6 separate regions of the Homo sapiens genome follow, and all the other regions are linked to region 1. The links are contacts of gene promoters, found by promoter capture Hi-C in blood cells and fetal thymus (Javierre and others, 2016). All regions are on one chromosome and are shown on one strand. Each heading gives the region's core, a stretch centred on a gene start or on the middle of the fragment in contact. The rest is flanking DNA. Distances are from core to core; before and after follow the strand shown.

What was found. The method cuts DNA at HindIII sites, captures the fragments that hold promoters and counts their contacts. A CHiCAGO score of 5 or more calls a contact.
Region 2: a fragment that was not itself captured here is called in contact with the fragment with the promoter of EGFLAM-AS2 in region 1 in 1 of 17 cell types (M0 macrophages); the score reaches 6.2 in M0 macrophages.
Region 3: a fragment that was not itself captured here is called in contact with the fragment with the promoter of EGFLAM-AS2 in region 1 in 5 of 17 cell types (M1 macrophages, M2 macrophages, M0 macrophages and 2 more); the score reaches 10.9 in M1 macrophages.
Region 4: a contact is called between a fragment that was not itself captured here and the fragment with the promoter of EGFLAM-AS2 in region 1, in 10 of 17 cell types (M1 macrophages, M0 macrophages, M2 macrophages and 7 more). The highest score is 14.5, in M1 macrophages.
Region 5: a fragment that was not itself captured here is called in contact with the fragment with the promoter of EGFLAM-AS2 in region 1 in 4 of 17 cell types (M1 macrophages, erythroblasts, M0 macrophages and 1 more); the score reaches 8.1 in M1 macrophages.
Region 6: a fragment that was not itself captured here is called in contact with the fragment with the promoter of EGFLAM-AS2 in region 1 in 1 of 17 cell types (endothelial precursors); the score reaches 5.2 in endothelial precursors.

What each region holds. Positions count from the first base shown.
Region 1 is chr5:38,401,244-38,405,109 of GRCh38, forward strand. EGFLAM-AS2 (EGFLAM antisense RNA 2) reads right to left here and starts at 2,228. Exons shown (of 3, transcript NR_102750.1): 1 at 2,156-2,228; 2 at 581-838. The region is part of intron 6 of EGFLAM (EGF like, fibronectin type III and laminin G domains); the gene reads left to right. The HindIII fragment of the contact is 8,755 bases long and covers 1-3,866 here.
Region 2 is chr5:38,846,683-38,850,548 of GRCh38, forward strand. All of the region lies in intron 1 of OSMR (oncostatin M receptor), which reads left to right. Among named protein-coding and RNA genes, the nearest start is that of OSMR, 2.6 kb to the left of the region's middle. The HindIII fragment of the contact is 2,378 bases long and covers 649-3,026 here.
Region 3 is chr5:38,828,269-38,832,134 of GRCh38, forward strand. The region is part of intron 1 of OSMR-DT (OSMR divergent transcript); the gene reads right to left. Among named protein-coding and RNA genes, the nearest start is that of OSMR-DT, 16 kb to the right of the region's middle. RefSeq lists an enhancer at 1,678-2,877. The HindIII fragment of the contact is 6,043 bases long and covers 1-3,866 here.
Region 4 is chr5:38,802,045-38,805,910 of GRCh38, forward strand. All of the region lies in intron 1 of OSMR-DT (OSMR divergent transcript), which reads right to left. Among named protein-coding and RNA genes, the nearest start is that of OSMR-DT, 42 kb to the right of the region's middle. The HindIII fragment of the contact is 979 bases long and covers 1,278-2,256 here.
Region 5 is chr5:38,785,449-38,789,314 of GRCh38, forward strand. The region is part of intron 2 of OSMR-DT (OSMR divergent transcript); the gene reads right to left. All of the region lies in intron 1 of LOC107986414 (a long non-coding RNA gene), which reads left to right. Among named protein-coding and RNA genes, the nearest start is that of OSMR-DT, 58 kb to the right of the region's middle. The HindIII fragment of the contact is 3,625 bases long and covers 1-3,529 here.
Region 6 is chr5:38,678,853-38,682,718 of GRCh38, forward strand. No RefSeq gene overlaps it. Among named protein-coding and RNA genes, the nearest start is that of LINC01265, 39 kb to the right of the region's middle. The HindIII fragment of the contact is 814 bases long and covers 1,365-2,178 here.

The sequences.
Region 1 (3,866 bases), core at 978-3,477:
AAGAGATCTCAGCCACCTACACTCTAACCCTTGGCTTCTCTAGGTTCCAGGTTCTTCTGACTGAACTATCTTTAGATACTTGATGCCAAAAAAAATTGTGCAATAGAGTCTTATGGACATTGAACTAGAGTCATATTATCTGATTCTAGAGTTAGAGCTTCCTCTAATGGGATGCATGATCTTGATTTTAAGTCAATTCTTTTCTGTGGCCTCGGTTTCCATGCTTGTGAAATGACAAGATTGGGCTGGATGGTGTTTAGATCTCTTTCCATTCTTACTTCTAGCTTCATTTGGGGGAAAAGGACAGGATTGGTGGCAGTTTTCGGGGTCTTTGGATTGGGAGGCAGAGTCCCACCATGTTGAGCAAGGGCAGGACATAGTTCAGCACTGTGGGAGTGTCTCCTGTCACTCCTCTCAAAGGTGTTGACCTTTGTTGAGTACATGAAGTGTTAGTGACATGGAGGAAGGGAAAGGATATGAAGAAATCTAAAATATGGTTTCTGCCCTCAAAGGATTTACAATCGAGTTGGTAAACACAAGGGCAAGAGTCTAAGGCCAGGAGCCCAGAAGATCTACATACCATCTTACACGTGTGTTGACTTTATCAAGCAATGGGCATTTATGCTGATTGGAGGCATATATCCATGGCTGGGTTGCCCCATCCAGGAGAAGATGAAGGAATGTCCTACAAGTCTTGGTGGCTTCTTACTTTGTGGAGTCACCATTTTTCCCAGAAGAGTCTGTTTTCTTTTTAAAATGTCGCTTGATTTTGGTCTTCTGATGGCACACATTCAGCTCTGTCTCCATAGAATGCATGCCCTCTGGGAGAATAGGTAGGCTGTGTGTAAGGAGATAGGAGTGGGAAAAAGATGACAATGGGAAAAAGCATTAACCAAAATCCTAGGGTAAGAAAATACAAGATGCATTCAGGAGACAACTGGCAGGCCAGTTTGGCTATTATATAGCTTTTAAAGAGTATTTTTTAAAAAACAACAAAAACCTGAAAACATAATTAGGATTCAGATTAAGTAGCATGATGTAGTCAAAAGAGAGACCAAGGATAAAATCTAGCCCTGCCATTCCCCATCTGTCTGCCTTGAGCAAGTTATTTAATCTCTCTGTGTCTATATCTCCACTTGGTAAAATGGAAGTAATAACACCAATTTTATAGTATTTTGTGAGGATTAACTTAAGCGATGTATGAAAAGCTCCTGGCACACTAAGAATGATCAACATATGGTAATTTTCTCAAATTCTAGGATCTTTCTACCTCCACAGTGGCTTCTTCTGCAATAGGCGATTAGGAGAGCAGTCACCAGACAGACCTTGGATTTGAGTTTAGCTCAGCCAGTTATAAAGTCTTCAATTTTAGGTAAATTACTTAACTACTCTTAACTCAGTTTTCTTATGTATAAAATGGATTAGTCATACTTACCTTGTAAGATTATTGAAAAGTTTAGAAATATATCATGTTAAGCACCCAATAGTACCTGATAAGAAGAGGAGATGGAGTAGAATTCAATAAATCATGGTGATGGGGGAAGAAGGAGGAAAAAAGGAGCTGTTTTAATTGAGAACCTTGAATTCTTGACCAAGAAGCCTAGAATTTATGTTGTAGGCAGTGGAGAGTCACTGAAGGTGATTTTTCAGATAGGAAATCATAGGATAAAGATGAAGAGAATCTTAACCTTGTTGAGAATGTGTTAATAAGGTGCACAGGGCAAGGAAGAACAGCCTGGAAGGAGAGAGACCAAACTACTGAAGACAAAAGCCAGCTTGCTTTATGTATGTGCTGTATAATTCTTTTACTACCAAATGGATTTCTTCTTCTGGAATCTAACAATTCTGAATATGTGAGAGAGGCAGAGATAGAAATGAAGAGTGAGGGAAAGGACAGAGGGGAGAAAGAGAAAGAGAGAGAGGGGCCGAGAGAGATAGATACAGTAGTTCCCTCTCCGCAGGGGATGTGTTCCAAGATTCCCAGTGGATACCTGAAACTGCAGATAATACTGAACCCTATATATGCAGCAGAACTAGCATAAATTTCATTTTCCTTCTTCACAGTTTCACAGATAGAAGATTCATTCTTGCCATAGATCTTAGCAACCTCAGCATATGATTTTTTTCTTTCCTTAATTCAGTTGAGAACTTTCACCTTTTAATTTAAAAGATGCACTTCATGGCTTCTCTTTGGCATATCTGAATCCCAGAATCACTGCTCTTGCACTGTGGGGCCATTATGAAGTCAGATAATGGTTACTGGAACATAAGCACTTCGATACCATGACAGTGAATCTGACAACTGAGACGGCTGCAGACCATGGGGCAGGGAGCATATGGAGCACGGATATGCCAGACAGAGGGATGATTCATATCCCAGGCAGGATGGAGCAGGGCAGTGTGCTATTTCATCGTGCTACTCAGAACTTATGAATTGTTTATTTCTGGAATTTCCCATTTAATATTTTTGGACTGTGGTTGATCGAGGGTAAATGAAATTGCAGAAAGCAAAAATACAGATAAGGGGGACTGCTTGCTGTACAAAGATAGAGACAAGAGGAAGGAGCTGTCCTCAAGGGCCTTTTGTGTGAAGACATCTGGCACACAGATACGCTGCATGCAGGTGGCTTGAGAGAACATGCATCCAGGTATAAATCTGGCATCGACAGGTTGAATTTTCAGTTGACAGGTGGACTACTTTAAATAAAACTGGGGAATTGGTGTGGAAGGGATGAGAACACCGCCTCCCCTTTGTTATCCCACCTCCACCAAGAAGTGCCCGAACCCCTGAGAACAGCTCACTCCACCCTGTCTCTGGGTCATCTGCATCATCTGCTGACTGCACTTCTCTCGTCTGGTCTGGGAGGAGATTGATTTCTGGTCAACAGCACGCCCCCTGACAAAAATGACTTTCTGCCATTTCCTTCCACTCCATTTTCAATCTGATTGCTATTCTGTTTGGAGGAGTGCTATGGTCGGAATGTTTATGTCTCCCTCAAATTCATATGTTGAAATCCTAACCCCCAAGGAGGGGCCTTTGGGAGGTACTTAGATCATAAGGGTGGAGTCCTTGTGAATGGGATCAGTGCCCTTATTAAAGAGGCCCAAAGGGGCTGGTTTGCCCTTTCCACCATGTGAAGATGCAGTGAGAAGGCACCATCTGTGCCCTCATCAGATACTGCCAGCCCTTTGATCTGGGACTTCACAGCCTGCAGAACTGTGAAAAATAAATGTTTGTGGTTTACAAGCCATCAGTTTATGGTACTTTTGTTGTAGCAGCCTGGACAGACAATGTAGGAGGGTGAGTTTGTCTTCCTGAGAATGGTGCATGACTTAGCTTATTCTGAAAGCAAAATGTCTTTAAGTTTAGTTTATGTTTTTTATGCTTTTTATGTTATTTTTCCTTTTTCTTTTCCACTAGGCATCCAAACACTGGATGTCTAATAACTAATGAGTGGCAGCATCCTACCAAAGCCAGTTTCTGTTGCCAAAGTTGTTACTGCCCTAAAGGCTGGTGCCTGGCTTTTTCAGTTGAGAGAGGGCAGCAAGTTAATACCTGTGCTGGCCCAAATCCACTGTGAGGACATGCAGGTGCCCTGGAGCCGCTCTTTAAAAGGCTGCCACCTCCTGGTGGAGTGTTTCCCATGTGCAACCTAAATCAGAGCGCTGTGGATCAGTGGATTCTGCGGATGACAGTTGAATAAAAATGCCAACTGAATGTTCCCCAAAAGATGATGCTCTGTATTGACGTCTGAGAGGTTTTCTCACCCACCTTTCAGTTCTGAAAGATTTAGTTGTCCTGCTAAGATGGATGAAATGGATGACCCCCAAGATACCTTATAGGGCCCCCTTTTTTTGGTTGTGGG
Region 2 (3,866 bases), core at 588-3,087, 450 kb after region 1:
AGCTCAAGCACAGGTGGAGAGAGGAATCCCCGGGCGACTCTGCAATAGCGTCCGTCCGGGGCGCTTACCTTCTTCTCCAGCCACTTGAGTGGAAGTGGCCCTCTACATTCTGGAAACCTAGGCACGGAGGGGTTCAGTAACTTGTCCAAGGCCATATGGCTAGCTGTGAGGGCACTGAAATCCGAGCCCGGCTCTCGCAGGCCAGGGCTTTACCCCTGACACCGCGATTCCTTTCTCGATAGTTCTTCATCTGCCCTTCATCCACCTACCCATGCATGCCTGCATCCGTCCATCCATCCTGCCTGCCTTGCTGCGGGAGGCACAGTGCTAGGTGCTGCTGATGGAGTGGCTTGGTAACAGACCTGCCTTGAAAACACTTTGGGAACAAGATATTCAAGAGAAGTAAATGGAAGGGTCTATGAAGGCAGAGAAGATAGAATTGAATGTAGGATACTTAGTTTGAGCTAGAAGGAATTCTGATGGAGGAGAAAGAAATTTTTAGGTTTTATTCCCAAGATTAAAACTGACTTTGGAACATGGGTCAAACTACTTATCACCTCTTAGTTTCCTTGTCTGCAAATAATAATGGTTCATACTTACTGTGAACCAGCCCCTATTCTAAGCACTTGACATATGCTAGCTCATTTAAGCTTCACGGGTGAGGCGGGTACTAGTTTTTTATTATATTTTATTGAGGAAACTGAGGCCCAAAGAGGTTTTGTAACTTTTCTAGGGTTACACAGCTAGCAGGTGACAGTATCAGGATTTGGGTTTGGAGTCTGCTCATGATCACCGTGCTGTAGCTCAAACTCTAAGACTGGGTGGGGTGTTTCATTATGGTCTTGCTTTGTCTCTCTCCTGGGCTGCTTTAAAATGCACTCAGAGCCCTTGATGTCCCCAAACTCCGCTGTGTCTGAGAATCATTTCTTGAGCTTTCAAAGCATCAAACTCCAAACACAGCCTTCTATTCAGAATCTTCAGGAAATACTCAGTTTGTTTTCCCCGTAGCATTTGTTCAGTGCCTCCAGTGGCAGGAAGCTCACCACCTCACATTTTATTGTAGGAAGAGCTAGTTCTCTGCTGTAAATTGCCTCCTTGTGACTTACATCTTGGTCCCAGTTCCCGTTTGTCCCAGCAGGTGTGGCTAAGCCTTTTGTATCAAAGGTGGCTTTGAGAGAAAAAGGCTGGTCTTGGGTGTTTCTTCCGCAGGGACCCGAGCCGCATTGGGGAGAACACATAAACACTGGTTCTTTCCCCCTCTACCCTTTTCTTTAACCTGAACAGACCAGGAACACATGCAGAGGTGTTCCTGGATCTCTCATGTTTTTGTAACCCTTTTGTCCTGAGGACAAAACCGAATCAGGAGAACTGTTACGGTTTTCAAAGGGGAATCAGTGGTACTGTATTTAACAAGAAGAAGGTGTGTATTTTCCTTGTGGGAAAGGACTGGGGCATTCATTGGCTGCAGTAGAAGAGAATCTTAGTGAGTGTGGTCTTGCTCACTTACAGGAACTGTGAGCCTTGGCCCTCCTTTCGCTGGGGGAGAAAATCCTTCTTGATTGCTTAAAAAATGTGTAAAATGGGGGGAAAAAAACCCAAACCAAAACAAATAGAATATCATGGCCTTGCTGGAGAAATCCCCTCCTCCAAGCAGGCTTCTTTGTAGCTACATGAAGAGAGAATTTCTTTTCCAACAGCTGTGTTGGTGGCTTCATAGCCTTCCTTCCCTCCTCATTTTAGTTGTACTGGTCGCTCTGCATTTGTGCACTCCACGTTGTATTCTATTTTTGTGTTTTAAAAATAATACAAATAATAACAACTCATTCTCACTCAATATAGAAGTGAAGTGAAATGTAGACGTGCCATCACCATCCTCCCTCCTCCCACTCAGAAGAGGGAAGGTTAAGTTTGATAATACCATTCTAAGGCTTGTTTTTCTTTTCTATAGTTTTACATAATACATACATATACATATGTTTTAAATATGCAAATTATCTTACTATACTTATTGTACAGCTTGCTTTTTCACTTTCCAAGTCTTAGAGATCTTTCCATTGTCTCTAGATACCTCTTTTGTTAATGGCTACGTGTTATTCTTTTTGTGTGTGTGTGAGATGGTCTCACTCTGTCACACAGGCAGAAGTGCAGTGTCATGATCATGGCTCACTGCAGCCTCGACCTTCTGGGCTCAAGTGATCCTCCCACCTCAGCCTCCTGAGAAGCTGGAACTACAGGCACATGACACCACACCTGACTTTTTTTTTTTTGTATTTTTTGTAAAGATTGGGTCTCTCCATGATGCCCAGACTGGTCTTGAACTCCTGGGTTCAAGCAGTCCACCTGCCTTGGCCTCCCACAGTGCTAGGATTACAGGCGTGAGCCACTGCGCCCGGCCAGCTACATGTTATCCTAAAGTAGAAATAGAATGTAATTTATCCATCCTTTCCTATATTGATGGACATTCAGCATTAGCAACGTTGCTTCAGAGCAGATCACACATTCATCTTCCTGCTCAAGTGTGAGTATTTCTGTGGAAGAGAATCTGAGGAGAGGTATTCCTGTGTCAAAGGGTTTGCCCCTTTTTCCACTTGATAGATACGAAGTGGAAGGTAACGATGTAACTTAATATTTTTGTAAAGTTTTAGACAGCTGATCCAATAGCATTTATTTAATAATTCATCTTTTTTCCAACTCATTTGAAATTCTGTTTTTATCATTAAATAAATTCCTGTTTGTAAAAGGGTCTGTGTCAGGATTCTATTCTGTTTCATTGATCTTTTTTTTTGTTTGTTTTTCCCTAAACCAATATTACTCTGAGTTAACTACTGTAGCTTTATAGTGTTTTTGAAAATCTTGTGGTATATATTTGTGCTTTTTAAAACAACTTTTTTTATAAATCACATACATTTTCTCTTTACAAATAGCCTGTCAAGTTTAATAAAATCCTATTTTTAATTAAGATTTTATTGAGTTTATAATTGTTAGCAATTTTTAATGCTTTAATGTCCACTTTGGTATGAGCTCCAAGCTTTAAGGAAACTGTGTCATGTGAACTTTGGTTAATGACTTATCTGATTTCAAATATTGGCTACACATCAGATTAACTGGGTCAGTTTGGATAAATTACTTGTCAACTTTCTTATCCTTAATTTCCTCCTCTGTGAATGGGAATAATAATATAATCCTTTTCTTAGCGCTGTTGTGAGGATTCAATTAATAAATGCATGTACGTCACTTAGCAAAGCACCTTGTAGAGAGTTAGTATCTTATACATGCTAGCTGGGATCTTTTTCATATTTATATCCTACTCATGGTTTTGCAGAGTGCCCTATTGGTAATAGGAACCAGTAAATATTTCCTTTATTTATTGGTAGTATCCTAAGAGACAAAAATATATCATATATTTTAAATATAGTAGTGTTTCTCAAACTTGAATGTGCATATGAATCACCTGAGGATATTATTTAAATGCAGATTCAAGAGGTCTAAGGTCTGGCCTGAGATTTTGCATTTCTGACAAGCTACCAGGTGATGTCAATACTGCTGGTCCTTTGTCCACATTTGGGTGTACAGTCTTGTACAACTATTTAAATTTATGCTGCTAGTGATAGTACTTCCTATTTGTAATGAATATGATTGAAAGCATTTTTAAATTGATTTCTTTTAAAATTACATGCTAAAGAACTAAATTATAGTTGTTTTCCTTTCTTCCTTCTTCTCTCCCTCTCTTCCTTTATTTTTGTTAAAAGAAAGAGGGTTGGTGAGATCGCTAAATAGAATACCTAGCTCTGTTCTTAGATCTAGAGTCATTGAGGCAATTAACTATCTGGATTATTTTAAACTGTTGACTTAAGATGAAGACAGTC
Region 3 (3,866 bases), core at 537-3,036, 430 kb after region 1:
AGGAGTTTAGGATATGTAGCTTTTTAGCTTTCCAGCCCCTGAAACTCAGGAGGAGGTTAAGATCAACTTGAGTGAGCCAATCTACTCTTTCTAACAAACCACGATGTAAGTAGACAAGCAGTTTAGGGAGGAGAATGAGAAGATGAAGCTGGAGAGAATTAGGAGAAACTGATGTCATAGAAATCATGACAAGAAATAATATGAGGAAGAAGGAAATGGTTAATTATTTAAAATAGGTGACGCAGAGAAACACCATGTAAGAATGTAAAGTACTGCTGAATTGGGCAATAACAATGTCCCTCAACACCAAAACAGGAGCTGCTTCATTGGTAGAAAGATGAGAAGGTAGAGACAATGAGTCCTAGAATACTCTTTACAGAGGTTGGTTGAGGAAGGAAGAGGAAGGATGTGGTTACCATCCATGAGACCTTGTGTGATAGTGAATCGTTCCTCAGTAAAGGATTGATAAACTCTGCCGTGGATAGACTAGAAAAGTTTCAATCTTTCTCCTTTGTGTCATTAAAAAAAAAAAAATCCTCTCCCTGTTCTCTAAGCTAACAGGTCTTCTTCTTGGGTCTCGCAAATCATCTTGTGAGTGAACAGAAGTGACTCTCAGATTTTCTTTGTATCTTCTTGTTGTGGAATTATCCTCACCCACAGCACAGGAAAGTTCCCTGAAGTGGCTGTCTCTGTGCTCCACTTTTCTTTTTGCCTCGTGCAACCTGTATCCCATTACCCCCAGGGAAAGCTGTCTCTCTTATTCATCTTCTTTGTCCTAAAATTCACATTAATTTTTACATCATACTCACAGTCCTCAACCCCCAGAGTTCCCTAAGTCAAACCATTGTTGGCTTCATGACTTTGGTAGATACTGCCAATAATCTCCCAATATCCATCTTCCCTTCTATTTTTTTTGGTAAAAGAATCCCCAAGTTTTACACGAGCCCAGCTAGAGACTAATTTCTTGTCTTCTTAAGCAGCTAGATGTGACCATGTGATTCTGTCTGAACCAAAGGGACTCTCACTTGTGCCTTAGGTGATGGCTGGCTGAAGAAATCTTGGGAGCCATATATTGAGCATGATAAAGCTGTCCTACCGACCCAGGCCACTTATTCTGGACTGTTAAATGGGAGGGAGATAAATTTAGATTTTAGGTAAGCCACAGTGTTGTTGTTTTTTTTTTTTTCTTTACTTGAAGGGGATCAGGATACGCTACCCCAAAATATGCCACTTTAACGTAAGGTTTATTTTGACCCAAAGGCAACTGAAAATCAACAGATGTAGAAGAGTTCTCCACCCTCCCTTTATCTGCCTAGAAGTTGGGCATGAGTTTCCCTTTGTTATGGTGTCTATCTCCTGTATCAGGAAAAGGAGAGCAACTTATATCACCAGAGATGGAGAGTTGGCACCAAGATAAATCTGCATAACAGACCTTAGGAAAAGAACCTTTATCTTCTGTTAGTTTCCCCCATATATTTCCTAGTTACTTCCCCATGATTTATCATCCCTTGAAGTTCAAATTTTCCTTTATTAAAATTATATGTAAACTAGAAGTCTAACTACTTCTTTGAGTTTCACTTCTTTTCTGTGAACTCTTGTGCATATAAATATTAGCAAAAATTGCACGCTTTTTCTCTCATTAATCTATCTTTTGTTAGTTTAATTCACAGGCCCCCAGATACTGAACCTAAGAGGACAGAGGAAAAGTTGTTTCTCCCTGAAAGACTATACCCTAAATAATACAAGGGTCACAAGGCATATTGCTCTCCTTTATAACAATGGCTGTGTGGTCCAGCTGCCACACAATATCCAAGACTGGTTCCACAATGACAACTGCATCTTTCAGGAACAGCTTCCATAACTTGTTCTCTGCCTATTAGAAGTCTCCTCTGACTAGAACAACATCGAAAGATGTTTCTCTTCTATATCTCATGACATCTGGAGAATTTGGGGCAAGAATGAACAGCACCTTGTAGGATGCTCTTGGAAACTTTGTCTTCTTGGAAACAATATACATATTCCCCATGATCTTTTGGCCTTGGAGTCAGCCAGCTTGCAACAAATTCAAGCTCTACCTACCACTCAACAGCAATGCTACTGAGCTTTTCTCTGTCTCAGTTATAAAATGGGGTAATAATTGTACTTGTCTTCAAAAGTTGCTATGGCAATATTTTTAGGTGAAATTTTATGCAAGTTTACATTATTATAATTATACAGTTAAATTATCCTGCTTTTGCAAATGTTAGGACAAAACATGACCATGTAAACCAATCCTTGAGCCTCTCTCTGGGTCTATGGAAAAGTCTGTGTCATTAGCTTCACAGTAAATCCACTCTGACTACCTCACAGGGGAATTAGAGGATGACACAACATACAGTCAGGGCCACTGGCACAAAGGTAACTTTGTGCTTATTACACAAGGGTGACCCCTCCAGATTGACACAGGGCTCAGGGCCAGCAAAGCAAGGGCTAGATTTTAGCTCTCACTATTTTTCTTGGTTGGGGGCCTTTGGCATTGGCAAAACTGGAGGTTGCTGATATAGCTGGGGGTTGGTGCACTCCACCAAGGTCCTTGGCCAGCAGGGCGGAGGTGAGCAGGAACCACATTCAAGTCCCCTTTTCTTGCCAAGTTGTGTGTCTCGACATGCAGCTGCATATACCCAAGAATAGGGCATGTTTGGCTTCACACGAAATCTCTGTCTTTCTGCTAAACCCTGCACCTACTTTTCTCTAATGTGTGCAGAGGTGCCTTAGAGCTTGTGGGTGGGCCAGCACATTGCACCAGTATAGGTAGCAGCCCTGATCCCTGGCACGCAATAAGCACTTTACAAACCTAAACGTTCCTTTGTGTCCCTATCCCACCCCCCATTCTTTCCTACCTATATAATGTTTTCCTTACTTGCTCAACCTTGTATAACTCGAGGTCATTAAAAAAGTTAGTTTGCATATTTTCAAGGAAGCAATTGGAAACCTAAGTTGCTCCAGGGAATTGCCTTACCAGTGTGTCCCTGTGCTTCCAGGGGATTCCACATAAGATAACATCTTTGGGGATTTTGCCAGATTCCTTGTCTGTATGCATTGGGGCACCGTGACAAAAATCCTTCGCTTGGCCAAACTTTAGTCAGAGTCCTGAACCCTCTCGTAGGCTCATATGTGTATTTCCTCGTAAAATCTAGTTTTAGCAAGAACTCTGTTAAGTCAGTTTAGCAAGACCACCCCCTACCCCACCCACCCTCAATATCTGATCAGGTTCTTTATCATTCACCATCTCCCAGGTGATGTCTTATCACCCTGGCCTGTCTTCAGCAAGAGTCTTGTGAGGTTGCCTTACACAGAATCCCCCTTACTCCTCAGGTTTCCCTTAGCACTTTTCCATCCACTGACCACCACCCTGCTCCTTGGCTATACATTTCTACTTGCCCATGCTGTATTTGGAGTTGCAATCCCATTGCTGTGGTCCCTATACCTATGGGATGGTCCGAATAAAGTCTTTCTTAACAGGCTTTATTAATTATCCATGAACAATTTTTTCTTTAACTAGCAGGGAAGGAATTTTCAGTTGTACCACTCTGGGAATGCCCAGAGCTCATCTTAGGCAAAGTCAAGCTAGAGGGCTGTGCCTGGCCAGTCTCAGGTGGTGGTGGTAGGATCAGGTAGCCAAGCATCAAAGTCCTCTGATGTCAGTCTTGCCTTTTGCACCGTGGTGGGAAGACGTGAAGCAAATTCCTCAAGTGGCCAGTTCTCTAAAAAGCAGCCACTAGAGGGCTCTATAGGGGGGCTCTCTCTCTCTCTCTCTCTCTCTCTCCTCTCTCCTTCTCTCTCTCCTCTCTCTCTCCTCTCTCTCCTCTCTGTCTCTCTCTCTGTCT
Region 4 (3,866 bases), core at 517-3,016, 400 kb after region 1:
CCGCAATCAAGGTGTTAGTTGGGGTGGCAGTCTTAACTGTAAAAGAACCCAGTTCTGAGCTCTTTCAGGTTGCTGGCAGCATTCAGTTCCTTGCAGTTACAGGACTGAGGGCTTCCATTTCTTGTTGGCTGTTGGTCAGAGACAGACTCTCAGCTCCTTGCCACACCGTCCTCTCTATGGGCAGCTCACGATGCTGCAGCTTTCTTCTTCAAAGGCAGCAGAAGAGGGGGGCTCCTCATGAGGTAGGAGTATAAATTGTGGTCACCTACATATAATTACTTTTGCTGTATTCTGTTGATTAGAAGTAAGCCACAGGGCCCACCCACACTCAAGGGAAGGGATAAGGGCACGAATATCCCAGTGCGAAGATCATGAGGCCACCTTAGAGACTGTCCTTCACAATAGGTTATGGATGCCTTTCTGCCACTCCTTCTGAATGTTTTCTCTTTTTTTTCTATCTCCACTCTCCCCAGTTCTCAGTCTTCGCCCAGGTTGCCCCCAGGTTTGGAATGCAAAGGAAAGTGAAATTTATTCCATCCCCAGCCCTTACTCTAAGGATGGGGAAAGCCATTTGGGTGGAAACCCTTCATTGTCAGTGAGGGTAATACAATATGACAATGTAACCCAGAGCAAGGAGAAGCCGAGTCCCTCTCAAAAGGTTTACAGCACTAAAAACAGGCTTCAATACTACTAAAGGGTTTCAGCCCTGGTTTGCATGAAATAGAGCCAAATGTATGCAAATAGAAGGAATATGAGTTTTTCATGCAAATCAAATGGGTATATTTAGAAGGAAATTAATCCTTGTTATATGAGGTGACTTTAAATTTGGAGATTCAGAGAGAGAACTAGTCACAGGTCAGAGTAAAAGTCCCTTCACTCTTTCCCACTGGTCAAAGCTGAGTCCTATATGTATACCACCCCCTCTCCAAGCCAGTGGTCTCAGAGGCCAGAGTAATAGACATGGGCCAAGGAGAAAGACCACTGGAGATGATGACTGAGGTTTCAAGACACTAGAAAGAACCCAATGGTGTAGGACTTGATTATTTTTCTATGCAGTGGTGGGCTTTATCTTAGCAAGAGAAGTAGAGGAAGAACGATGAGATAATACAGATGATCCTGGATTTATAGTGGGGTTACATCCCGATAAACCCATTATGAAGTTGAAAATATCATGAGTCAAAATGCATTTGATACACCTAACCTATTGAACATTATAGCTTAGTCTCATTTATGTTAAACGTGCTCAGAACACTTACATTAGTCTAGAGTTGGGCAAAAGCTTCTGACACAAAGCCTATTTTACAATGAAGTGTCAAATATCTCATGTAACTTACTGAATACGGTACACAGCAGAGCATTGGTTGTTTACTCTTGCGATCACGTGGCTGACTGGGAGCTGCAGTTCACTGGCACCACCCAGCATCGAAAGAGAGTATCCTATTGCCTTCTACTGAATATGTATCACTTTCATACCCTCTTAAGGTCCAAAGATTGTAAGTGAAACCATCATAAGTCAGGGACTATCTATATATCAGAATTGGTTTCAGCTGTAAGAAACAGAAAATTCCTGAGTGAGAGTGACTGAAATAAGAAAGATTACGTCTCTCTCATGTTCAAGAGGTCTAGAGGCAGCCAGAGCTGGGCTGGTAAATAATCTACGGGGCGAAGAGTCTTCTCTAACTTTATGCCACATACACTTTTCATTTCCAAGGTAACTTCATGGTCCAAGTGGCTGCTGGAGCCCAAGTTATTACATCTGTCTCCCAGTCAGTAAGAAGGAAAAGGAGAGAAGAAAAACACCTACTCTTCCACTTAAGGATACGCTGTGGAAGCTGCACACACATTTCTGCTAATATTCCATTGCCCAAAAAGGAGTCACAGAGCCGCACCTAGCTCCAAGAGAGGTTGAGAACTGTTGTCTTTATTGGGGGTAGCTAAGCATCCGGATAATCATCAGGTACTTAAAAATGGGGGAAATGTCTACAGGTGGATGACAGTCTCCAACTAAGGTATGGTGGACATAAAGACGCACCACCCAGCTTCCACATGCAGGAAGGCCCCATTGCCTCACCTGTCAGGGGTGCAGGTGGTGGACAGCCTTCACCTCCAGCCCTTCAGGTCAGTCTTAGCTGCAGAGAGATGCCTGACCCAAGGGCTTGCTGTCCCGCAGGCAGCCCACACTTAATGGCTGATTGAGGTTGGCACATTGGGGCCTGCCTTTCAGCCCAGCATGGAACAGGTCTGGCAGGCCATGTAAGCTTCAGAGCTCCCCTTGCAGTTGGCTGAGGTTGCTATTGGTCACTTCGAAGTTCTACTTCTCCTTCAACCCAATCCTACTCTGCTCCATCCTTTTCCCAGATGTTGATCCCAAGGGCACTGCCTGATAAACATCCTGTACTCTTAACTCTGTCTCAGAGTCTGCTTCCCAGGGAACCCCACCTGCAATAACAGAGGGGATGAAGACTTAAGGGAAACAACTGTAGGATGTAAAGAGAGAAGAGAAGAGTGAGGAAATAGGGAAGTTCACAAAAGACTGGAGTAGTCAGAGTTCTCCAGAGAAACAGACCTATTGGATGGGGATCTACCGATGGGATGGAGATACTTGTACATATATAAAGAGAATTACTATAAGGAATTGGTTCACACAGTTATGCAGGCTGTTATAGTGTGGACTGGTAGGCTAGGGACCCAGGAGGGCTGATGGTGCAGATGAGGTCCAAAGGCGGTCTGCAGGAGGATTCACCCCTGCTCGGGGAGGCTGGTCTTTTTGTTCTATTCAGGCCTTCAATTGGCTAAGACCCACCCTCATTATGGAGGGCAATCTGCTATTAATGTTCATCAAATTAAATGTTAAATTCATCCAAAAATACTCTCCAAGTTGACACATAAAACTAACCATCACAGTCACCTTTCCAATGCCCAGGAAGGTCTCTCTCCCATAATCTCCCTTCCCTTCCCTGCCCCATACATATGCACGTGCACACACACACACACACACACACACACACCCCTAGGTGTAGAGGTTTGCACTTATGGCAGTAAAATAGAGCAAGCTGGCTGGTTTCATCACCCCTCCCATGCTCTGTAATGCTATTAGACTTTACAGAATCCTTGGGAAAAGAGCCTTTTTAGGCACTGCAATATTAACTTCAGGAAAGGTAAGAGAGGCTGGGATCCAACCAAAATTTAAGAAGATTATCTCCCTCTATTCAGTACAGGACATGGTACCAGCTGTTTAGTAGATTACTAGGCCATAAAGCATCTATGCACAAACAATTACCAAGGCAGAAAATGTCATTCCTTCCCATTTTCCATGCCCCAGTGAGAGCAGAAGAGGTCACTAGTAAGGTTTCAGCAGGAAAGGGGCTGCCTGCTTACCTAAGCACATCCTCCCAGCTCAGGGAGGGTCTGGCCTGGCTCCTGTCAGGTTTTCTTGCCTAACTCCATCCCTTCTCCAACTATCCTTACCCATATTAGACCTCCCAGAACTCCTTTTTGTTCTGCATAGATCTAAGTTAGATGTAGGTTAGTGTTGTTTCTGTCAGATTACTGGCAACACTACTTCAGTGATGATGTCTACTCTTTAAGATGAACCTGCAAGGGCCAAGTCTGGTTCTGTGGCCTATGTACATTCAAAAAGGTTGAGACCTTTTCATATCATTAAAAGTACATTTTTACCATAAAAATGTAGGTGATATAGTAACTTCCCTGTCCAAAAAATATCTACTGTATACACTCTGAAAACAATAGTGGGAGATCTGGAAAAATCAATTACTTGCCCTGCATTTCCAGGATGTATCCAAAATACAATAAAAGAAACTTAGAAGGCTTGAAAGATGGTTTAGAGCTGAGCAGGCTTGCACTGA
Region 5 (3,866 bases), core at 467-2,966, 380 kb after region 1:
ACATGTCTCAGATCCTTTGCTAGGCTTTGGACACGTTTTTAAAAAAGCAAAAATGTGTCCCTGCCTTCAATGCACTTATGTTCTAGTAGAAAAACATTTTGTAAACAAATAATTGGTCAAAAGTGGTATAATAGAGGTATACCTTTGATATGGTTTGGCTGTGTCCCCACCCAAATCTCATCTTGTAGCTCCCATAATTCCCACAAGTCGTGGGAGGGACCTGGTGGGGGATTATTGAATCATGGGGTTGGGTCTTTCCCATGCTGTTCTTGGGATAGTGAATAAGATCTGATGGTTTTATAAAGGTTTTCTGATGGTTTTCTTCACCTTCTACCATGATTGTGAGGCTTCCCCAGCCATATGGAACTTGAGGCCATTAAACCTCTTTCCTTTATAAATTACCATGTCTCAGGTATGTCTCTATTAGTAGCATGAGAACAGACTAATACAGTTAATTGGCACCAGGTAGTGGGGTGCTTCTGTAAAGATATCCAAAAATGTGAAAGTGGATTTGGAACTTGGTAACAGGCAGAGGTTGGAACAGTTTGGAGGGCTCAGAAGACAGAGAGATGTGGGAAAGTTTGGAACCTCCTAGTGACTTGTTGAATGACTTTGACCAAAATGCTAATAGTGATATGGACAATAAAGTCCAGGCTGAGGTGGTCTCACAAGAAGATGAGGAACTTTTTGGGAACTAGAGCAAAGGTGACTCTTGCTGTTATTTAGCAAAGAGACTGGTGGTATTCTAACCCTGCCCTAGAGATTTGTGGAACTTTGAACTTGAGGGAGATGATTTAGGGCAACTGGTGGAAGAAATTTCTAAGCAGCAAAGCATTCAAGAGGTGACTTGTGTGCTGTTAAAAGCATTCAGTTTTATGTATTCACCAAGATATGGTTTGGAATTGGAACTTATGTTTAAAAGGGAAGCAGAGCATAAAAGTTCAGAAAATTTGCAGCCTGACAATACTATAGAAAAGAATAACCCATTTTCTGTGGAGAAATTCAAGCAGGCTGCAGAAATTTGCAAAAGTAACAAGGAGCCAAATGTTACTTACCAAGACAATGGGGAAAATGTCTCCAGGGCGTCAAAGACCTTCACAGCAGCCCCTCTCATTACAGGCCCAGAGGCCTAGGAGGAAAAAAATGGTTTCATAGGCCAGGCCCAAGGCCCTCCTACTCTTGCAGCCTAGGGATTTGAGGCCCTGCCTCCCAGGTGCTCCAGCTGTGGCAAAAAGGGGCCAAGATACAGCTCAAGCCATGACTTCAAGCCATGACTTCAGAGGGTGCAAGACCCAAGCCTTGGCAGCTTCCACATGGTGTTGAGCTTGTGAGTGTGCAGAAGTCAAGAATTGAGGTTTGGGAACCCTTGCCTAGATTTCAGAGGATGCATGGAAATGCCTGGATGTCCAGGCATAAGTTGGCTGCAGGGGTGGAACCCTCACGGAGAACCTCTGTAGGGCAGTGTGGAAGGGAAATGTGGGGTAGGAGCCTCCACAGTGAGTCCCCACTGGGGCACTGCCTAGTGGAGCTGTGAGAAGAGGGCCTTCATCCTCCAGACCCAAGAATGGTAGATCCACCAACAGCTTGCACTGCGTGCCTGAAAATGCCACAGAGGCTCAATGCCAGCCCATGAAAGCAGCTGGGAGGGAGGCTATACCCTGAAAATCCATCAGGGTCAGAGCTGCCCAAGACCGTGGGAACCCACCTCTTGCATCAGCGTGACCCGGATGTGAGACATGGAGTCAAATGAGATCATTTTGGAGCTTTAAGATTTGACTGCTGTGTTGGATTTTGGACTTGCATGGGGCCTGTAGCCCCTTTGTTTTGGCCAGTTTCTCCCATATGGAATGGGTGTATTTACCCAATGCATGCATCCCCATTTATCTAGGAAGTAACTAACTTGCTTTCGATTTTACAGGCTCACAGACAGAAGGCACTTGCCTTGTCTCAGATTATACTTTGGACTGTGGACTTTTGAGTTAATGTTGAAATGGGTTAAGACTTTGGGGGATTGTTGGGAAGGCATGATTGGTTTTGAAACGTGAGGACATGAAATTTGGGAGGGGCCAGGTGTGGAATGATATGGTTTGGCTGTGCCCCACCCAAATCTCATCTTGAATTGTAGCTCCCATAATTCCCACCTATTGTGGGAGGGACCCAGTGAGAGGTAATTGAATCATGGCAGTGGGTCTTTCCTGTGCTGTTCTCATGACAGTGAATAAGTCTCATGAGATCTGATTATTTTATAAAGAGGAGTTCCCCTACACAAGCTCTCTCTTGCCTGCTGCCATGTAAGATGTCCCTTTGCTCTTCTTTCATCTTCCACCATTATTGTGAGGCCTCCCAGCCATGTGGAACTGTGACTCCATTAAACCTGTTTCCTTTATAAATTACCCAGTCTTAGGAATGTCTTAATAGCAGCATGAGAACAGGCTAATACAACCCTTAAGCTGAAGATAAGAATGATGAATAAATATTAAAGTCTAGTTAGTTGAGTTGTTTATCACTGTTGTATGGATCAGCAATTATGAAACTGCTTTCAGTATATTCTAGGATTAAACAGGTAAATATATTTAGGATAACAGGGCCAGATTTCTCACTGTCAAAGAACAGTATGTTGAATTAGAACTGGAAGTATCAGTATAAATTCATGATTTATATCGATACATATTTATCTATTTTATAGATGGTTGAGTTTTCTTTTTTTTTTTTTTTTTCTTGAGACAGGGTTTCGCTCTTGTTGCCCAGTCTGGAGTGCAATGGCTCAATCTCAGCTCACTGCAACCTCCAACTCCTAGGTTCAAGCGATTCTCCAGCCTCAGCCTCCCAAGTAGCTGGGATTACAGGCATGGGCCACCATGCCCAGCTAATTTTGTATTTTTAGTAGAGACGGGGTTTCTCCATGTTAGTCAGGCTGGTCTTGAACTCCCGACCTCAAATGATCTGCCTGCCTTGGCCTCCCAAAGTGCTGGAATTACAGGCATGAGCCACTGCAACTGGCTGATGCTTGGGTTTTCTAACTAAAGCAAAGGACCAATAGATATTATTTTACTTCTATATCTATATATCAACAGGTATATAGACATGTTATATCTACATCCACATGGATATAGATGTATGCATAGAGGTGTATACACATATGTCTATTTCTTACGTCCCTGAGAAGGCCTCATAGCAATTACAGTTCAGTAGCAATGAGCACATATAGTGCACAGATTTTTTTGTCTCTAAATACTACACTATTCTCCACTGAAAGAAAGCAGGGTCACTTGAAGATACAGCTTATTTCATGGCTAGGACAGGAAAAGTTCAAGATCAGCCCGGAATATCATCTTGGGAAATAAATAAATTCTCAAAGAATAGAGACACAGAAAGATGTTTGAAGGGGCTCCCATTGACAAACTTGGGATAATTCAAGCATCCGAATAAATAATATTTACAGATTACCTACCAAAGAAAATGGAAACCCATAAATTCATACTGACTTAAATGAGTCAATGAATGAAAGAATAAATGAGGGATGAGGAAAAGCTTCTCCCTTTGTAGAATGCCATGAAATAAATATAGAAAGAATAAAAGAGTTTCAAAATCACTTTACAAAATTTTTGCAGTGATTGATTCATGAAGAATCACCAACAGTTGCTAAAACTAGTGTACAAAAGTTTGACATGCAACAAGATATCTCCATAGTCTCAAAATATCTTCTCACAAAATACTTATTAATGACAAAAGCAAATGGTAAATTTAACAAGGAGAATCTGGCAAATACCTCTGGTGCTTCATAATCTAATTTAACATTACCAGTAGTGGGACAAACTGACACCATGTTTCCACTGACATGATGCACTAAGAGGGACGCCACATGA
Region 6 (3,866 bases), core at 522-3,021, 280 kb after region 1:
CTAGCCCTCTTTCCACCCTCCCTCTTTCTGAGTGACCAGTGTCCATTCAGCACTGTCTTTCTAATCACAATTCTTCCTGTGAACTCTGACTTCTGTTGGCTATCTGTTTTAGCCCTTTCAACAGAAATGAAAATACAGAAAGATGTTCAATTGGTGGGAGAATTGCCTGAGCCTGGGAGGTGGAGGTTGCAATGAGCCGAGATCACGCCACTGCACTCCAGCCTGGGTGACACAGTGAGATCCTGTCTTAAAAAAAAAAAAAAAAAAAAAAGATGTTCAATCTTTTTAGGGTGACAGAGCAAATCTGTAACTCTACTTACAGTCAAATACCAGGTACTGATGTCCCAAAATTTCTTCTTGGAAAGAAGGAACCATTTTATTTTCATTGGCACCAATCATAGGATGTTTTCTTCACTATTTAATTTTGAATAACACAGTTCTTTTCAGGGAAGACACATTATCCTGAAACACCCTGAATTAATGCTAGATTTGAATGTCTATAAGTAGGATTTGTGAACTTTGATAAATATTTAATCATTCTTTCATTTGGGTGAATGGCCTTACATTTTCAAGAATGGGTGTTAATGTGAGTGAGCCTTTTAAATATCACTTTTTTGAAGTATTACAGTAAGTGATTGCATAGTAAACATTCAGAATATGCAACTTCAGGAAGAATGAGAGAAAACTGTCCTAATACTATGCTGTGGCTTGGGATAAAATTGAGATATGATGGAGGAAAAATATGTCAATTACCAGATATCTTTATGTGAAATATAAGATAATATATAAAATGGGACTGGGCATGGGGGCTCATGCCTGTAATGCCAGCACTTTGGGAGGCCAAGGTGGGTAGTTCTCTCGAGCCCAGGAGTTTGAGACCAGTCTGGGCAACATGGTGAGACTCCATCTCAACAAAAAAATATACAAATTAGCTGAGCATGGTGGTGTGCACCTATAGTCCCAGCTATGTGGGAGGCTAAGGTGGGAGGATCACTTGAGCCTGGGGTGGCTGAGGCTACTGTGAGCCATGATCATGTCTCACATGATCATGGCAGTGGCACTTTAGCCTGGGTGACAGAGTGAGACCCTGTCTCAAAAAAATAAAAAGTTAATATGCTTATATAAAACGATATTAACACATCAATTTTATAAGTATATATAAAATGATTTATAATATGTGTATAACTAAATTAATACATTAACTATTTTTAAGCAGATGATTCATGATTTTTAGCTATGTTCCTAGAATTTTTGGTGACGGGAAGGGGAGCATTTACTTGGGCAATGGGAGTGTCTCATATTTGACATTGCCTTATATTAGGGCATATACTGTAGATGCATAAACAATGGTTGAATCCTAACCAAGCTTGGGGTGGGGGGAGGAAGAACAATGAAGACATTCACAACAAATTATTTTCTTTTCTCTGTGTTATCAAGAAAATGTGTTTACCAGTCTTTATCTTGATTCCAGATCCACAGCAAATGATGACTCTTCTCTATGTATGACGATGATGGTTTGTGAACCAAACTCTGGATCATATAAAAATGAGTGTTTGAAATACTACTTCAAAAGTAGCCACTTCTGAAGATTCTATACATTTATTCAGAGAATGACAGTCATGGGCCAAACTGCTTGGGAACGCCTCTTGGAGGACTGCCTTCAAATCATCACTTCACAGGCTGGACGACAGGGCCAGGCTCCACACTTTATAGACAGTCTTTTTGTTTTCTTTTTTTTTTTTAACCCCAAATGGTTATACTCATGCCATTGACCAGCTTGGCCTCTGGATGACTTTTGGCTCTTTCCAGAAATCATTAAATTCACTGTCTTCCACTGACTCCCATCCCCCATCCCACCCCAAAGGAAGAAGACTTGGCACAGAGTAGGACTTTCAGAAAAATGCTCTGCAGGCTCTGAAGACAATTCTGCGAGAGGAGTTCCAAATGTTTAGAGGAAAAACAAGACAACTAGAGTCAGTATATGACCTCCCAACGAGAATGTGCTGAAAAGAGACAAAATTCCTTAGGGTTTCTAAGTTCTAGAAGATTACTTTTTAAATATCATTTTATGTTCCTATGCCACATTTAAAATGTACAAACCTTGCATGCCATACCAGGTAGCCAGATTGAGCAAATATCTTCACGTGTTTTCTACTTCAATCAAAATAGAAAACCTTAAGCTTTTTTGCTTTTGAGACTAAGCCTATAAACAAAAGTACAATTTATAAACCTGCTATGCACATTGGCAGGAACCTATGACATAAAATGAATATTTAAACTTGGGTTATTTGGCAAAATGGTGGTACCATCCTCCCAGTAACAATGCTAAACATCAGAACACAAGCAAGCTCATGATGCAATCAGCACAGGGGTGCGGGATCATTATCTTCAGTTGTTCACTTGCAGAGGGACTGAAAGCTCAAGTTATATAGACTTGCCTCATCTGTAGGCCTGGTGAATACATCTTCCATTTTACATTTTGGCTCCAGGATATGACATTCTCTCCATATATCATCTGCTGGTTTTCTTCTTTGTTGGACAGTTATTTTGTTAGGAATTCATAACTCTTTATGTTTTGACACAAGCTCCCAGCACATAAGCTATTCCCTGATTGGAAATGAAGCTGTTTAGAAACTTGTTTTAACTCTTTCAATTCATTAGGGTGTTATTTAGTAAGTTCACTGAAGCAGTAATTTCCCAAGTAGAATTAGCTGGCCCTTTATATGTTGTCAAATAGCCAACTTTCGAGCTGGAACAATCCAACAAATGCAGTTATAACGCAACCAAAACCAGTTAAGAAATAAGTGACTTTGGGGATTTAAAAAGAGAAAGTGAGTCCAGGGAAATTTGCTAATTCTTTTGGAAAGAACTTAAAAATTAGGGAATGAAGGAAAACAAATTGGACTTCACATATTTGGATTTCAGAACAACATTTGATTTAGAATAGTAATTCTATGGTTAGATTAATTCAAGCCATATTAATTATTTGAAGATTGTAATGCATGATTCTAATATGATGCTCATTCGATTCACATTTCCCATTACCTCTGAAGAGTACATATCTCCAAACGGAGTTATTTGGAATAAGTCTTTTACTGTGCACAAGTTTAGAAAAAATTTCCAGGAATTTATCCCAAAGGAAAACCCAATAGAAACAAAAACAATTTGTATTTGCCCACACTAGTGCATTTCTCTGCCTTCTGCCAGACATTTTTTAGATATTCTCAAATCAAGTTCTCATTTCTGCCTCTGGCATCTCACTGCAACAGTACCAGACATTGATATAGTCTCGATAACTTTCAAAAGCTTTCTTTGTACATCGTCGGGTCGGATCTGTGCAATTATTTTGTGGGTTTAAAAATGCTTCTCTACCTAAATGTAAGCTCCTAGAGGGAAGAACTTTGTCTATCTTGCCTACTTTTGTATCTTCAGAATTCAGAAACGTGTCTGGTACGTAGAAAATGTCATTAACCATTTGTTGAATTCTGTAGATGAGGAAACTCAGGGCCTACAAAAGAGTAATAATGATGCTTTTGTTTAGCTCCATAAAGTCTTCAGACTGCTATCTTATTTATTCTGTTATTGTAGAGTTCCATATTTTATGAGGACACTGCCTTCCTTTTTTGTCACAATTGCACATTATACACAAACACACACACACAAACACACGTACATCTATAGCTGTTCCATGATTTTTACTTACGCCTCTTTTTGAGCAATTATATCTATAAAATCATGAGTTTTATGTGCTAGTTATATTTTTTCCTAATACACATAAGAACAAATAAATCATTTTATATAGAATTAAAAAGTAGATAAAAACTGGATTGTGCAAAATCATCTCACATCATACAAATTGCTATCCC